Linked DNA regions of Homo sapiens: region 2 is linked to region 1. Evidence: promoter capture Hi-C in 16 types of primary human blood cells and fetal thymus (Javierre and others, 2016). All regions are on one chromosome and are shown on one strand. The core of a region is centred on a gene start or on the middle of the fragment in contact, and the rest is flanking DNA. Distances in the headings are between cores, read along the strand shown. Region 1 holds the start of RBFOX2 (RNA binding fox-1 homolog 2). Region 2 overlaps LOC284912 (a long non-coding RNA gene).

What was found. The method cuts DNA at HindIII sites, captures the fragments that hold promoters and counts their contacts. A CHiCAGO score of 5 or more calls a contact.
Region 2: a fragment that was not itself captured here is called in contact with the fragment with the promoter of RBFOX2 in region 1 in 3 of 17 cell types (M0 macrophages, M1 macrophages and activated CD4 T cells); the score reaches 6.3 in M0 macrophages.

What each region holds. Positions count from the first base shown.
Region 1 is chr22:36,026,424-36,031,085 of GRCh38, forward strand. It overlaps RBFOX2 (RNA binding fox-1 homolog 2), which reads right to left and starts at 2,401. Exons shown (of 14, transcript NM_001349999.2): 1 at 1,817-2,401. The coding sequence starts at 2,002. RefSeq lists a silencer at 2,567-2,636. The HindIII fragment of the contact is 7,441 bases long and covers 1-4,662 here.
Region 2 is chr22:35,624,849-35,629,510 of GRCh38, forward strand. LOC284912 (a long non-coding RNA gene) reads right to left here. Exons shown (of 4, transcript XR_001755514.1): 4 at 2,728-2,811. Among named protein-coding and RNA genes, the nearest start is that of MB, 9.9 kb to the left of the region's middle. The HindIII fragment of the contact is 8,948 bases long and covers 1-4,662 here.

The DNA.
Region 1 (4,662 bases), core at 1,151-3,650:
CACTATCTTTAGCCAGTTTGAAGGCAACCAACAGATAATAGGCCCCAGGAGTAAATGAGGGAAAGGGACGGGGGTCTCACTATTAACTAGGATTGACAGAAATGATAAATGAATACATACACACACACACACACACACACACACACACACCAAGTAGAACCTGCTCACCAGCACCTACATCCAGTCTTCCCTCCTTATCATCCAATATTAGCTCACCTCACCTGAAGTCTCCCACATTCCTGTCTTTTTTGCCATGGCCCTGAGCTTTTACTTCTCACAATCCCTCTGCCTGACAGAGTTCTAATGGAAAATAAAAGCAGGCAAACAAAACAAAAGAATTCAAAAATAAACACCAAGAGGGTCACTTTACCTAAATCAACAGAAGTAACAGGGTAAACTCTGCAAAGGAGACCAAGAAGCATACAACAAACATGCTAGGCTTAAGTACAGCTCTGTCCCTAACACAGGAAGTCAGGCAGAGGCTTGAAAAGCAGGGAGCAGAGCACAGGAAGTCTTTTAGCACTGCAGAGATTTCCAAGAGTGGTGTAATGGAGACAGCACAGGAATAGGAATTAGAAGACCAGGCTTCTAGTTCTAGTTTTACTATTAGCTAACTGGGTGGCCTTACCCAAGTCACCATCTTCTCTGGACTTCTGATTCCCCATCTATAAAATAAGGTGGTTAAAACAAGCTGGGACTTGAATCTCCTCCAAAAAAAACAAAGATGAAAACTATTGACTCTCCTCCACCAAAAAGTGCACATCACCTACTATGAGTAAGAATCTTCCAAGTCTTCCCAGGTTAAGAACCCCTGGAAAAGATGATGTCTAGTCCTCCTAGCATCCCTCTAACATCCTATGACTCCGAGAGAATTAGGCACAAGTCTGCACAACTGTTGGTAGGTGAGACTCATCATGTCATAGCAGTATTTTCTGGGCAAAGACCAAATCGTAAAACCTCCAAAGGTTTCAAGGTCTTCTTCAAAACTATGAAGTCAGCTGACATCAATACCTTTCCCATTCCCTACCCAAATTAACCACGTTTATCTTTCAATCCAGAATTGAGAATCCAGTCTTCTAATAGCCCTATAAAAAAATTTTTTTTATAGCCCGGGACATTAAAGAGCTATTTTGTGTCCTGGTGATGTAGAATGCAATTGGCAAAGAACAGGAGGGACATGTCTAGTGTCTCCCTTCAGACTCATTAGTATGCTCCACAAAGTAAATGAGACTGAGCACCACCGTGTCCCCATAACATTACCAAACTCCTTGTACTTCTCACACTCTGTGTGATTTAACCCACAATCTCAGCCACATCCCCTCGGGGCTCTCTCGAGGAGTTTTCTTTTCACTCCTCTCATTGAAATGCCACTTCTCTTCCCCATCCCAGCGTGTGCCCAGGGCTGCCAAAAGGTACTCCCTCTTCTCGGGAGGTTTCCCACCAGATCTCCTTTTCCTCGACTCAGTCCAGAGAAGCCAGGATTTCCCGGCTTCCACTCCACCCCAAGGCACTAAGGAAGGATTTGAAAAAATGGAATCCATCTCAACCTTGTTCGATTTCCCCCCAAAACCTATCCACTCGTCGTGCCTCCTGGCCCCTCAGGAATCAGGACCCTCTCGGGCACACCAGGTTCAGTCCTGCAACCTTCGTTCCTAGCCCGAGCTCGCCCCACCTTCCAACCAGGCCCCGAATGGCCCCCCATCCCACCTCCAACCCAGGACTCCCGGAGGCCCTCCCTCTCTCCAAGCCGGGGAGCCCGGTGTCGACCCTCACGCCCACCCCCGCAATAACTGGGCGCCCCGTCCCGCGCGGTCACCTGCATCCCGCCGCCACCGTCGGCCGCCGCCTCCTCAGTGCGCGGCCGCTTGCTCAGGCCGGGATCGGCTCCGTCTCCTCCCGCTCCGGGCACCGGCAGCTCCAGCTCCGACTCCCGCTTCATGCCCCGGGCGGCGGCGCCGGGCCCGAGCTGAGGCGGCTGATGCGGCTGGGCGCCCTCCGCCATCCGCCCGCGCCCCCCTCGCCTCCGGGAGCCGGGCGACCCGCGACAGGCCACCTCCCCCTGGGCCTCGGCCCCGACTGTCGCGACAGGCGGGCGCGCGCCTGCCCCCGCCCCCGCGTGCGTGCGTGCGTGCGCGCGAGCGGACTCCGCGCCCCTCCGCGCCTCGCGGCCGCCGCTCCTTGCCTGACCGCTTGCTCCCCGCCCGCCCGCCCGCCGGGTTGTCGGCGCGGGGCCACTGGCGGGTCGTGATGAGCACTCGCTCGCGCCCCCGCACGCACACGCGAAACCCGGCCCGGCCCGCCGCGCCGCCCCGCCTCTCGCACTCCCGGAGCTCGCCCACCGGCCGCGCTGGCTCACACTCTCCCTCACAGCACGCCGGCCGAGGGAGGAAGGGGGCGGTCCGGGCTCCCGAGGCGTGGGGAGGGCTGTTTATTTTGGGGGGAGGAGGGGCGCGAGGCAGGAACGAGCTGACTGGCCGGGATCCTCCGACCCGCCACTGTGGCAGCACCGGGAAGGCGGGGAGAGAGAAAGAGGGAGGGAGGGAGGGACCGGGATGTAGAACTCCAGCCCGCGCGGGAGGCTACGGCGAGGGGGGCGGTGGCGGCCCGCGGGGGGGGCGGGGCCAGGCCCCCTCGGCAATCTCCGTAGTCTCCTCGCTGGCTGCCCGAGGGAGGCCGGGAAGCGATCGGGGAAGCTCGGGAATCTCCGGCACGGGCCTGGGATTGTCCTGGAGGCACAGCGCGGCTGGAGTGCGGGGCAGCGCGGGGGGGGCGGGGTCTGTCTCCTTTCTGGGCGGGGCCGTATCCTGGAGCAGGCGGGGCTTGAGAGACCCGAAGGCCAGGGAGTGGCTCCTGCTTGCGGTACTAGTTGTACAGAGTTAAGTCCTGAGTTTACTCGCCTGAGCACCTTGGTTCCCGGAGAGGGAATGGGCACTCTGTGAGAGGCAGGCTATTTGCCTGCTTCCCCTCCCGCAGAAGAAAAAATGTCTCAAATTGGAAGGTCGAGGAATGAAGCCACCCCTCTATGGTTCACCCCAGTTCTGAGAGCTTTTACTCTAATATAACTCACATTCCTAATGAAGTTAGTAATAATACCCGATGTTTGTAAGAGCTTTAGAGTTTGCACAATGCATCCACAGACCCGTTTCAAACTGGTGATATAAGTAGATACCATGATCTCCATTTCATTGATGATGAAACTGAACCTTAGTTAAATCCTGCAGCAAAAAAGTGGCAGATCCGGAATTCAGAACACGAGAACATATTCTCTTTCTTCGTACCTTGCTGCCTGAGGAGCACTTTATGACTTACCAACTTCGTGGAGATAGAGATATCTGTGCAATAGATTCTCTCCCCTACCAGACTGTGAGGACAAGGACTGCAGTGACTTCCTCTGAGTTCCATATCGTGCCCTGTACGTTATAGAAATAAAAGGATATTGCGTGAATAACCTGGATTCTAATCTTGGCTTTGCTAACTAGCTTAAACAAGTTACTTCATCTCTTTGGACCTCAGCTCCATCATTTGTAAAATGAGATGGTTTGGATCAGTGGCTTTCAACCAAGGAGAAATTTTGCCATTCCACCACCTCCACTCCCACATTTGTCAGTGACTGAAGGCATTTTTTTTTTTTTTTTTTTTTTTTTTTTTGAGACAGAGTCTCGCTCTGTCGCCCAGGCTTAAGTGCAGTGGCGCGATCTCGGCTGACTGCAACCTCTGCCTCCTGGGTTCAAGCGATTCTCCTGCCTCAGCCTCCCCAGTAGCTGGGACTACAGGTGTGCGCCACCAACTAATTTTTGTATTTTTAGTAGAGATGGGGTTTCACCATGTTGGCCAGGCTGGTCTCGAACTCCTGACTTCAGGTGATCCGCCTGCCTCGGCCTCCCAAAGTGCTGAGATTACAGGAGTTAGCTGCCGCGCCTGGCCGACTGAAGGCATTTTTGATTGTTACAGTGGGGAGGTGCTGCTGGCATCTAGTGTGTAGAAGCCAGGAATGTTGCTTGACATCCTATCATGCACAGGACGGTCCCCCCAGGAGAGTTATCCAACCCCAAATGTCAATAGTGCGGAGGTTGAGAAACGCTGGGTTAGATGATTTCCAAGGTCATTTCCAACCAGTGTGTGATTTGGCCTTTGAACCTGGGTTTAACCTGGCTGGGGCTGGAACAGTACAACAGTAAAGATCCCTGCTTCAGAGTCAGACCAACCCAGATGAGAACGCAGGCTTCCCACCTCCTGCCCACGTAATCTGGGACCAGTGGTGACTAAGAACTTCCATATAAAAGGTGTTTGGGGATTGCAGACTGGTTGGAAGGGAAGTCGGGAGGACTTGCCTTGAAGGTGAGTTGTTGTATTGAGCATATTGTTTGTATTACTTAGGCTGTGTTATAAATCAGTAAAAATAGCAGAGTTTTAGCTCTGCCACCTGCAAGTCATGATGCCTTGTGACAGCTACTTACCCCCTCTGTGTCTCAGTTTCTTCATCTGCAAATTAGGATAACAATAATACCTTCCTGAAAAGATTATTGTAAGAATTTAATGTTATCACGTTTAGAACTTTGAACGGAATGATTTAGGATAAGCGCTCCATAAGTGTTACAGCTAACACTTATAGCTAACTAATAATAGCTTATTAGTAGTACCATTATCACTTTATTCACTTTT
Region 2 (4,662 bases), core at 779-3,278, 400 kb before region 1:
AAGTGGGGCTGTGGGAGGTGACACCTACTGGGAAGAACTTTATGTGCCAGGCTCAGGTGATGCCTGAGCAGCGTTTTGAAGGATCAATAGGAGCTTGTTAGGAGCAAAGTGAGGAAGGGATATTCCAAGCACAAGGACCAAGACAAGGACTTGGGGGCTCAGAACGGATAGTCACGTTCCACAGCACTCATGCTCACCTGGTGTGTGCCAGGCTCCGTGCTGGGCTCTGGGGGGACTAAGGTGACACCGGCTGGCCTCCGAGCATTGAGAGGTGGTAGGAGGGAGGGATGTGTGACCTAATGTTGTCAGTACTTTCTGATAAGGGCAATAATCGAGGTCATTCAGCATAGGGCTAAAGGCTTTGGAATGAGACTCCTGGACTCGGCCCTACCATGCACTACTTTTGTGATCCATGAAAAGTATCATAACTTTCCAAGGTCTATGCTTTTGTTATCTATAAAGTGGAGATTTTGAAAAGAATAACCTATCTTAAATATCATTGTAAGGATTAAAAGAGGGAGCACCCAGCATGGTGCCTGATACATAGTAAGTGCTCAATAATTGCACACTGTGATATAAGGTAGAGAGAAATCATGGAGTAGGGAAACATTAATTCCACCAAGGAATTAACATGTAACTGAGAAGGTGATGTCCGAGCAAGGTTTTGAAGGATCAATGGGAGTTTGTTAGGAGCAAAGTGAGGAAAAGACATTCCAAGTACAAGGATCAAAACATTCAAGGACATAGAAGTTGGTGTGTTAGGACTAGGTTTGGTTGTTGGTAACAGAAAACTCAAAATAACATGGCTTCAGCAAGAGAGTATTAATTTCTCTTTCATATAGAAGTCTAGAGGCAGGGGATTCAGAGCTGACATGGCACACCACAGTCTCGGGGACCCAGCTTCAATCTACCTTAGTGCTCTGTCATGTTACACATATGGCCTTCACCTCCTCATCCAAGATGGCTGCTTGAGCTCCAGCCATCGTGCCCTCATTCCAACCAGCAGGAAGGAGAAAGGGGTGAAGAAGGTTGTGCCCCTATCTTAAAGAACACTTTCCAGAAGTTGTAATTAATACTTTATCTTGCTGCGCATCCAATGGCCGTACCTCACTGCAGAGGAGGCTGGGATATGTAGTCTTTATTTCTACATGGCCACATCACCAGATAAAAATTGGAGTTTCTACTACTTAGAAAGAAGTGGGGAAGGTATATTAGATGAAAATGAGCGATTTCTATCATAGGAGACATAAAATAGCATGCTATGCAGGACGCATAAATATTTTGGTGTTTCCGTGGTGGAAAAAGTGAAGGGGAGAGTGATGATTACAGAAATAAACAGAGGCCAGGCATGGACAGCCTTGGGAGCCACAGACGTGGGGGCGTGTCCCCAGGGAGAGCCACAGAAGGGTTTCCGAGCAAGGGAGAGCCATGGTCTGATTTGCTGTCCTAGAAACATCACACTAATTGCAGATGTGATTAACATAATGGAGGGGACACGTCTGGAGCCAGGAGGCATTTCTCCCTAACATTTTATTATAAAAATTTTCATACATGCAGCAAAGTGGGAAGAATCTCACACTGAAAACCACCTAAACTCTACCACTGGCATTTTACTAAATGAATTTAATCATGCTTCTCTCTCCCTCTACGCACCCATCCATTCTTCTTGTTTTGTGGCATTTTAAATTGCAGACATCTATCTGATTCCCTGCAGAAACTCCACAATACATGACATGAACAAGAGTTCAAAATTTCTTTGCATTTTCTGTTTTGCTGTAAGATGTAAAATTTACATTTAATTGCACATGTCTTAAATATACATTTGCTGAGATTTGACAACTACACTCACTTGTGTAGCTCAAACTGTATTAAGTTAGAGAACATTGTCATCACCCAAAGTTCCTGCACGCCCCTCCCCAGTCAATCCTGGCCCCCTCACCTGCCAGAGACAACCACTGTCCTGATTTTTTTTTTTTGAGGCGGAGTCTCAATCTGTCACCCAGGCTGGAGTACAGTGGTGTGATCTTGGCTCACTGCAACCTCTGCCTCCCGGGTTCAAGCAATTCTCCTACCTCAGCCTCCGGAGTAGCTGGGACTACAGACACATACCGCCACACCCAGGCTAATTTTTTATTTTTATTTTTAGTAGAGACGGGGTTTCGCCATGTTGGCCAGACTGGTCTCAAACTCCTGACCTCAGGTGATCCGCCTGCCTCGGCCTCCCAAAGTGCTGGGATTACAGGCATGAGCTACTGTACCTGACCTTACTTCTTTTAAAACCACAGATTGGTTTGGGGAAGGCAGACATTTGAAAGCCTGTTGGGGGGCCATGTACTGAGTGGGGTGGGGTTCGGAGCTGAAGGAGAGGCAGGGCAGAGGGAGACAGGATTTCCAGGGCTTCCCTGCAGGTTGAACTTGGAGGCTGGAGAGAGTCATTTAACCAGAGTGCCCGTCATCTGCTGCCAGGAGTTGAGTTTCTCGCTGAGTGACCGGGCAGATGGTGGCGCCATTTACTAAGGTGGGGTACCCAGGACGAGGACGGGCCGGGGGTGGGTGGAGACCAGTTTCCTTTGGGACACGTAGCATCGGGTGTTCAAGGGGCATGTGCCTGGCAGTTGTAGGGATACACAGCCATCCCCAGGGCAGCTCCTTTCTTCTGACCCCTGTGGAGGTGTGAGCTGTCCTCTGGTGAGGTGGTGCCAGGGAGCGGTCGCCAGGTTTGTCCACCTCCTTCTTGGCCAGCCGGCACCAGCGTGTATCGGGCTCCCTTCACCAGGAAGGGGAGGTGCTCTCCTCGGTCTACCCTGAAGGCTGCACAAGGGGCGTAGAGAGGGCATGGGTGTGGTTACTTCTGGGTGGCAGGACATGGGAAAGGAGACCTTACTCCTTAGGGGAAGCTGGGGAGCTCAGGCGCCCGTCTGGGCAGTCTCCAGGCCAGGTCCTCTCCTTCCTTGTTCCCTCCCCAGCATTCTGCAGCCACACACATTCTCTCTCCCCAGGCACCGCCCATCCCTGTCCCAACACCTCCCACCATTCCCTTGAAAAACAATCAAACCCCAGCTCCCCCAGGAAGGAGGCGTCAGAGTCAGCTCTGCTCCAGGGAGGGCCCCCCAGGGAGGGGGCAGGAGAAGCAGAGAGGGAAAATGAAACCACGGTCACCCTGGGCTGCAATTAGGTTTTCTCTGGTCTCTCTCAAATCAAACACAACCCACAGCAGAGCCATTTCTTCCTTAAAAGCCCATTTGTGGTTCATGCCTGTAATCCCAGCACTTTGGGAGGCCGAGGCGGGTGGATCACGAGGTCAGGAGATTGAAACCATCCTGGCTAACACAGTGAAAACCCATCTCTACTAAAAATACAAAAAAAAAAAAAAAAAAAATTAGCCGGGTGTGGTGGCGGGTGCCTGTAGTCTCAGCTACTTGGGAGGCTGAGGCAGGAGAATTGCTTGAACCTGGAAGGCGGAGGTTGCAGTGAGCCAAGATCACACCACTGCACTCCAGCCTGGGCAAGAAAGCAAGACTCTGTCTCAAAAAAAAAAAAAAAAAAAAAAAAAAGAAAGAAAAAAGAAAAAAAAAAGCCCATTTGGTCCTCAGGAGATATTGCTATTCTTCCCATTAGCGTGAGTTGGACTCATTTCTTGGGAATCAATGCCCCATCCTTATTCTGCTAACACAGGATTGGGTTCCCCTTCCAGAGTTGCATCACAAAACATCCTGAATTTATCTGGCAATTTGGAGAAGCCTCAGTTTACCCCATCGGGCTGAGGGTTACAGTCTAAGCTATAGGAAGTGCCAGCGTAGAGGAGGCAGCAGACGTCACCTGGGGAGGATGTGAGGGAGGAAGAGAAGGACCCTTGCGGGGGTCAGCAGCATTTCAGAATTGGGAAGAAGAAGAGGAGGTGGGGAAGAAAACTTCCTAGAGGGGACGACAGGGTCAGGCCTGCATTTGAAGGGTGGATGAGAAGAAAGCCTCATGGGAGATGAGGAGGACTACTAAGGGCTTCTTATGTACCAGGCTTGGGTGAGGGCAGAAATACAAATATGGCTGCCTACACTGGTGTGTTAGCATACTAGCTGCTGTAACAAACAGCCCCCAAATCTCATGATGTGTCCTTAGCCATGGCTCAAAAGATTTCGTTCTCATTTATCTCCCAGTCCAATGTAAGCTGAGAAGAGGGCTCTCCTGCACCCAGTGATTCAGGCACTCAGGCTCCCTCCCCAAGGACTTCCAAAACCCCCATCCCTCTGCATCCAGCAGGCAAACCGCTGGAGAAAGAAATGAGGGTGGGCTGGGCAAGGTGGCTCACGCCTGAAATCTCAGCACTTTGGGAGGCAGAGGTGGGTGGATCACTGGAAGCCAGGAGTTCGAGACCAACCTGGCCAACATGGTGAAATCCTGTCTCTACTACAAATACAAAAATAAGCCTGACATCATGGTGGGCGCCTGTAATCCCAGCTACTCGGGAGGCTGAGGCAGGAGAATCACCTGAACTCGGGAGGCGGAGGTTGCAGTGAGCCGAGGTCACGCCGCTGTACTCCAGCCTGGGCAACAAGAGTGAAACTCCATCTCCCAAAAAAAAAAAAAAAAAAAGGGTGGAGGATCTTGTAAGGGGTTTTAGGGGGTATGCCTGAAAGTGGTGCTCATTGCTTCTGCCCAAATTCC